Linked DNA regions of Homo sapiens: region 2 is linked to region 1. The links are contacts of gene promoters, found by promoter capture Hi-C in human tissues and cell types (Jung and others, 2019). All regions are on one chromosome and are shown on one strand. The core of a region is centred on a gene start or on the middle of the fragment in contact, and the rest is flanking DNA. Distances in the headings are between cores, read along the strand shown.

Region 1 (2,700 bases), core at 132-2,631:
TTTCCCTCTTGTGGCCCAGGCTGGAGCGCAATGGCTCCATCTCGGCTCCCCGCAGCCTCTGCCTCCCGGGTTCAAGCGATTCTCCTGCCTCAGTCTCCCGAGTGGCTGGGATTACAGGCATCCGCCACCACGCCCCGCTAATTTTGTATTTTTAGTAGAGGCTGCGTTTCTCCATGTCGGTCAGGCTGGTCTCGAACTCCTGACCTCAGGTGATCCGCCCGCCTCGGCCTCCCAAAGTGCTGGGATTACAGGCGTGAGCCACCGCGCCCGGTCGAAAAGAGTCTTTTCAACAAATGGTACCGGAACACCATTAAAATATGGAGAAAAATGAACATCAATCAGCGCCCCCTTTCTCTTACCCACTCCTCAGCCCCAAGGTCGCCCTGGGAGTTCTTCGCAGGCAGGACCGTGACTCGCGTGGCTTTCGGGAGGCTGATTACCCACGCCCCATGCCCGTGCAGCGCTGGGTGCAGAGGAACCGCTGGAAGGACCTGTCCCCCGTGGGACCCCCACCAAGTCTCATCCCGTGTCATGTGCCAGATAGTCTCCCGTGGTTTAAGGACTTTCAAGACTCTTAACAGGTTAGGAAAATCCAGAAGAAAGGCAGAATTGGGTCCCTCGGGCTTGCCTGACACCAGGGACGGTGGAGTTGAGGTGACATTTCACTGGCATGGAGACCTGAAACCAAAAGCAGGATGAGCCGGGCACGGTGGCTCACGCTTGTAATCCCAGCACTTTGTAAGGCCGAAGCGGGCGGATCACGAGATCAGGAGCTCGAGACCAGCCTGGCCAAAACAGTGAAACCCCCGTCTCTACTAAAAATAGAAAAAAAATTAGCCGGACGTGGTGGCGGGCACCTGTAATCCCAGTTACTCAGGAGGCTGAGGCAGGAAAATCGCTTGAACCTGGGAGGCGGAGGTTGCAGTGAGCCGAGATCGTGCCACTGCACTCCAGCCTGGGCGACAGAGCTTGACTCCATCTCAAAAAAAAAAAAAAAAAAAAAAGGCAGGCTGAATCACTCGCCCGGTAGTGACGGAGGAGGCCGTAAAAGCCTCTTAGAGGCCAGACCCCGCAGTGGCCTCTGTGTCCTTCATTCCGCCACCCATCCGTCCACCGAGCGCCTGCTGGGTGCCAGGAACTGGGTCACAGAAAGGCTGAGGTCAACTCCCGACCGAGAAGCCTGGCGCTGGGACCAAGTGGCAAAACGACTCCGAATGCAGCGGCATCCACGCGGCGGCCGTGGTTGAGGAACAGAAGCTGAGAGCGGCAAGGGCGGTCACAGAGGAAGGAAGTTCAGGGTTAGCCAACAGGAGCCGCAGGTGCCCCGAAAAGGGGGCGGGGTCAGGGGTGCCCTGAACTCCGAATGCGAAGTTCTGTCTTGTCATAGCCAAGCACGCTGCTTCTTGGATTGACCTGGCAGGATGGCGCCACCACCAGCTAGAGTACATCTAGGTGCGTTCCTGGCAGTGACTCCGAATCCCGGGAGCGCAGCGAGTGGGACAGAGGCAGCCGCGGCCACACCCAGCAAAGTGTGGGGCTCTTCCGCGGGGAGGATTGAACCACGAGGCGGGGGCCGAGGAGCGCTCCCTACCTCCATGGGACAGCACGGACCCAGTGCCCGGGCCCGGGCAGGGCGCGCCCCAGGACCCAGGCCGGCGCGGGAAGCCAGCCCTCGGCTCCGGGTCCACAAGACCTTCAAGTTTGTCGTCGTCGGGGTCCTGCTGCAGGTGAGTCCCCACCGCGGTCCTGCCTGGGGAAAAGCGCGCCTGGCACCGGGAGGGGGCAGAGAGAGAGGGGGACGCGGCGGGGGTGCCTGGCCCGGGTCACTTGTGGCGGGGCATGTCCGGGCAGGAGGAGCCCGTCGTCGGAGTCGGAGGAAGAACGGGGTCCCCGGGGCCAGGCAGGAGCGACCCGGGCCTGGAGGCAGCAGAGCCCCCTCCCGCAGGAGGCTGGGCCCGGGGACTCCACCCCGTTGGCTGCTGCCTGGCGCGTCTCCCTCCTGCCCACACCTCACGATGTATCGGGAAGTTTCGGAATCGATAGAGCTCAAGTGTGTAAACTTCCAAGCCAACTCCCAGCCACACCAGCTGCGTGAAGGGGAGCGCCATTCTCCCCACTCCCTGATTCCCTCCCCACCCCCGTCCTTCTTTTCTTCTCTTCTTTTTTTTTTTTTTTTTTTTTTTGAAACGGAGTCTCTCTCTGTCGCCCAGGCTGGAGTGTAGTGGCGCGATCTCGGCTCACTGCAAGCTCCGCCTTCCTGGTTCAAGCGATTCTCCTGCCTCAGCCTCCCGAGTAGCTGGGAGTACAGGCTCCTGCCACCACGCCCGGCTAATTTTTTGTATTTTTAGTAGTCACGGGGTTTCACTGTGTTAGCCAAATCCGCCCGCCTCGGCCTCCCAAAGTGCTGGGATTACAGGCGTGAGCCACCGCGCCCGGCCCTCCATCCTTCTTTTCTTAGACAAATTGGTTAAACACGCAGCCCGGCAGGAAAAAGTAACTTTCTCTCCTCTGCTCGTTGTCTTCCGTTTCGAGTCCACTGAGCACACCGGCAGCAGTTTCCTTCCAGCCACTTTCTTGCGCATCAACAGGTACAGGGCAGCGAATTGACCACCACGAGGCAGGCAGCCAGGAGCGGGGCACGCCCTTCCTTCAGGAGGCAGCGTTTCCTGTGAAAGCAATCACTCAGTCTGGAAAAATGCC
Region 2 (2,700 bases), core at 55-2,554, 150 kb before region 1:
TTGTGTTAAGGTCAGCTTGATCGTACAAGTTTCCCTCTGGTTAATGTACGCATGGTATATCTGTTTCCATCCTTTTACATTAAGCCTCTGTGTCTCTTCTAAGAAATATAAAGCTGGATTGGGCTGGGCGTGGTGGCTCACACCTGTAATCCCAGCACTTTGGGAGGCTGAGGCGGATGGATCACTTGAGGTCAGGGGTTTGAGACCAGCCTGGCCAACATGGTGAAACCCCATCTCTACTCAAAATACAAAAATTGGCCAGGCGTGGTGGTACATGCCTGGAATCCCAGCTACTCGAGGGGCTAAGGCAGGAGAATCGCTTGAACCCAGGAGGCAGTGGTTGCAGTGAGCTGAGATCGCGCCACTGCACACTCCAGCCTGGGCAACAGAGCAAGACTCCATCTCAAAAAAAAAAAAGAAAAAGAAATGTAAAGCTGAATTGTTTTGTTATATTCGTTCTGATGATCTTTGTCTTTTAATTGGAGTATTTATTTTATCTAATGTAATTACTGATATATTGGAGTTTAAACCCACCATCTAATATTTTTTCTATTTGTAACAATTGTTTTATGTTACTTTTTATTTGTTTTATTGCTTCAATTTTGGATTAATCAAGTATTTTTTAATTCTACCATTTCTCCCCCAAACCCCCTTATTAACCTGTTAGTTGTACTTTTCTTTCAGTATATGGTTCTTACAATGATTCCTATAAAGATTACAACATGCATTTATTAGACTTGCTAAAGTCTAATAGACAATAGTACTTTTACCACTTCCCAGACAACACAAGAACCTCAAACCACTTGAGCTCCATTTAATGCCTTCCTGCCTTTCGTGCTGCGCTTGCCATGCATTTTTTTTTTTTTTTTTTTTTTTTTTTTTTTTTTGAGACAGACTCTCACTCTTTCGCCCAGGCTGGAGTGCAGTGGCGTGACCTCGGCTCACTGCAACCTCCACCTCCTGGGTTCACGCCATTCTCCTGCCTCAGCCTCCCGAGTAGCTGGGACTACAGGTGCCCGCCACCATGCCCGGCTAATTTTTTGTATTTTTAGTAGAGACGGGGTTTCACCGTGTTAGCCGGGATGGGCTTGATCTCCTGACCTTGTGATCCGCCCGCCTCAGCCTCCCAAAGTGCTGGGATTACAGGCGTGAGCCACTGCACCCAGCCAGTTGCCATGCATTTTAATCATACATGTATTTTAAACCCCACAGGACATTCTTCCTGTTTTACACACTCGATCTTCATTGAGATTTACCTACATCATTTCCTACTTCATACTCTTCATTCCTTCCTACGCCTCCTTACTGACATCTGGGATGATTTTTCCTTTTGCCTGAAGAATTCCCTGTAGTATTTCCGTCTTGTGGGTATTCTGGTGACAGACTCGCTCCTCTTTTGTTTATCTGGGATGTCCTTATTTTACCTTCGTTCTCTTCACTGGGCACAGATTCTAGGCAGACTTATTTTTTTCCGCCCTTTGAAAATGTTGCGCTGTTGAAGTCTTGTCTCCTTATTTGTGTTGAGGGGACCAGCTGTTAGTCTTTCTGCTGCTCTTTCTAAGGTAACTCAGCTCCTCTACCCTGTGTTTAAGATTTTTCTTTCTATCTTGTCTTCTCTGCAGTTGGATTTCGATGTGCCCAGATGTGGTTTTCCTTGTAAACTATACTGTGTGGGCTTGATGTCTTTTGTCATTCTGGAAAATTCTAGGCCATTATTTCTTCCATTATTTCCTCTGCACATCCTTTCTCTCCTCTTCTTTGGGATTCCATTTATGGGAATGTCAGACCTTCCTATGCCCTGGCTTCTAGAGTGCAGCTCTTCAGGAATGCATCTGAGAGCCTGGAGCTGTTTAACAGGTCCCTTTGTCCTTGGCAGGTTCTGAACTCCCGGTCTCCCCAGTCCCTGGAGGCTGCCTGCAGCTTTGCTTAGCTTCTCAGCCTGTTGATCACTGCCGTGGAATTGGCGAGTATCTTCCGGGGGAAAGCAGAGACAAAAGTGAGCCTCACCTCAATGCCCTTCCCATCTCTCTGGATTCTTGGTTCCTTCAGTCCTTGGTGCCTCGGTAGCTTTCTCGTGTCTTCGAACATATGTTTTTAATATTTTACCTTCCTTTTCTAGTTGTTCTTGGCAGGTAGCTTTATCTACTGCAAGGTAGCCTGATACATCCAGAGGCAGATGTGTTGCTGAGCAGAAATGACAAAGAGGTGGTTTCTGTCCCTTGGGCCTGAGGGTCCGGTGGCAGAGCCAGACATGACAACAATGTAAAGCACCAGCAAAATGTGATGTCAAAGGGAAGCAGAAATACATTCAATCTGATAGGAGGACCTAGGAAGGTCTCTGTGAAGAACAGGAAGGATTGCACCAGGTGCCATTTGGAGGGGAGGGGAGGGGATGGAGGCGCGTTGTTCTAGGTGTCAAAAGCTGAAGCTGGTATAGGCTGATATGATGGGATGTGTGCCATGGGCAGGGCTGGGGTGAGAGAAGGGAGACACCGTCGTGGGAACCGAAGCAGGGAAGGTAGGCACGTGCCACACATAAAGGCTTTTGTATCCAAGCTGAACCAGGACTTTTTATATGGGATGGCACATTGGGAGTGACCCATTCTGGCTTTGCTTGCAGTAACTGTGCAACTCTGGCAAAATCTCTAACCCTCTCTGGTTCTTGATTTTGTTGTAAAATAAGAATCCTAATAATACCTG

What was found. Contacts are between HindIII fragments. The study calls those that stand out against the background at their distance.
Region 2: a contact is called between a fragment that was not itself captured here and the fragment with the promoter of TNFRSF10A in region 1, in 1 of the 25 tissues and cell types used here (aorta).

The regions. Positions count from the first base shown.
Region 1 is chr8:23,223,783-23,226,482 of GRCh38, reverse strand. TNFRSF10A (TNF receptor superfamily member 10a) reads left to right here and starts at 1,381. Exons shown (of 10, transcript NM_003844.4): 1 at 1,381-1,727. The coding sequence starts at 1,422. It overlaps TNFRSF10A-DT (TNFRSF10A divergent transcript), which reads right to left and starts at 1,262. Exons shown (of 3, transcript NR_033928.1): 1 at 360-1,262. RefSeq lists an enhancer at 989-1,128, silencers at 1,180-1,371, 1,539-1,788, promoters at 771-1,424, 1-1,424, 853-1,889 and a cis regulatory region at 1,810-1,889. The HindIII fragment of the contact is 7,664 bases long and covers 1-2,700 here.
Region 2 is chr8:23,369,939-23,372,638 of GRCh38, reverse strand. All of the region lies in intron 1 of LOXL2 (lysyl oxidase like 2), which reads left to right. Among named protein-coding and RNA genes, the nearest start is that of LOXL2, 33 kb to the left of the region's middle. The HindIII fragment of the contact is 3,539 bases long and covers 1-2,700 here.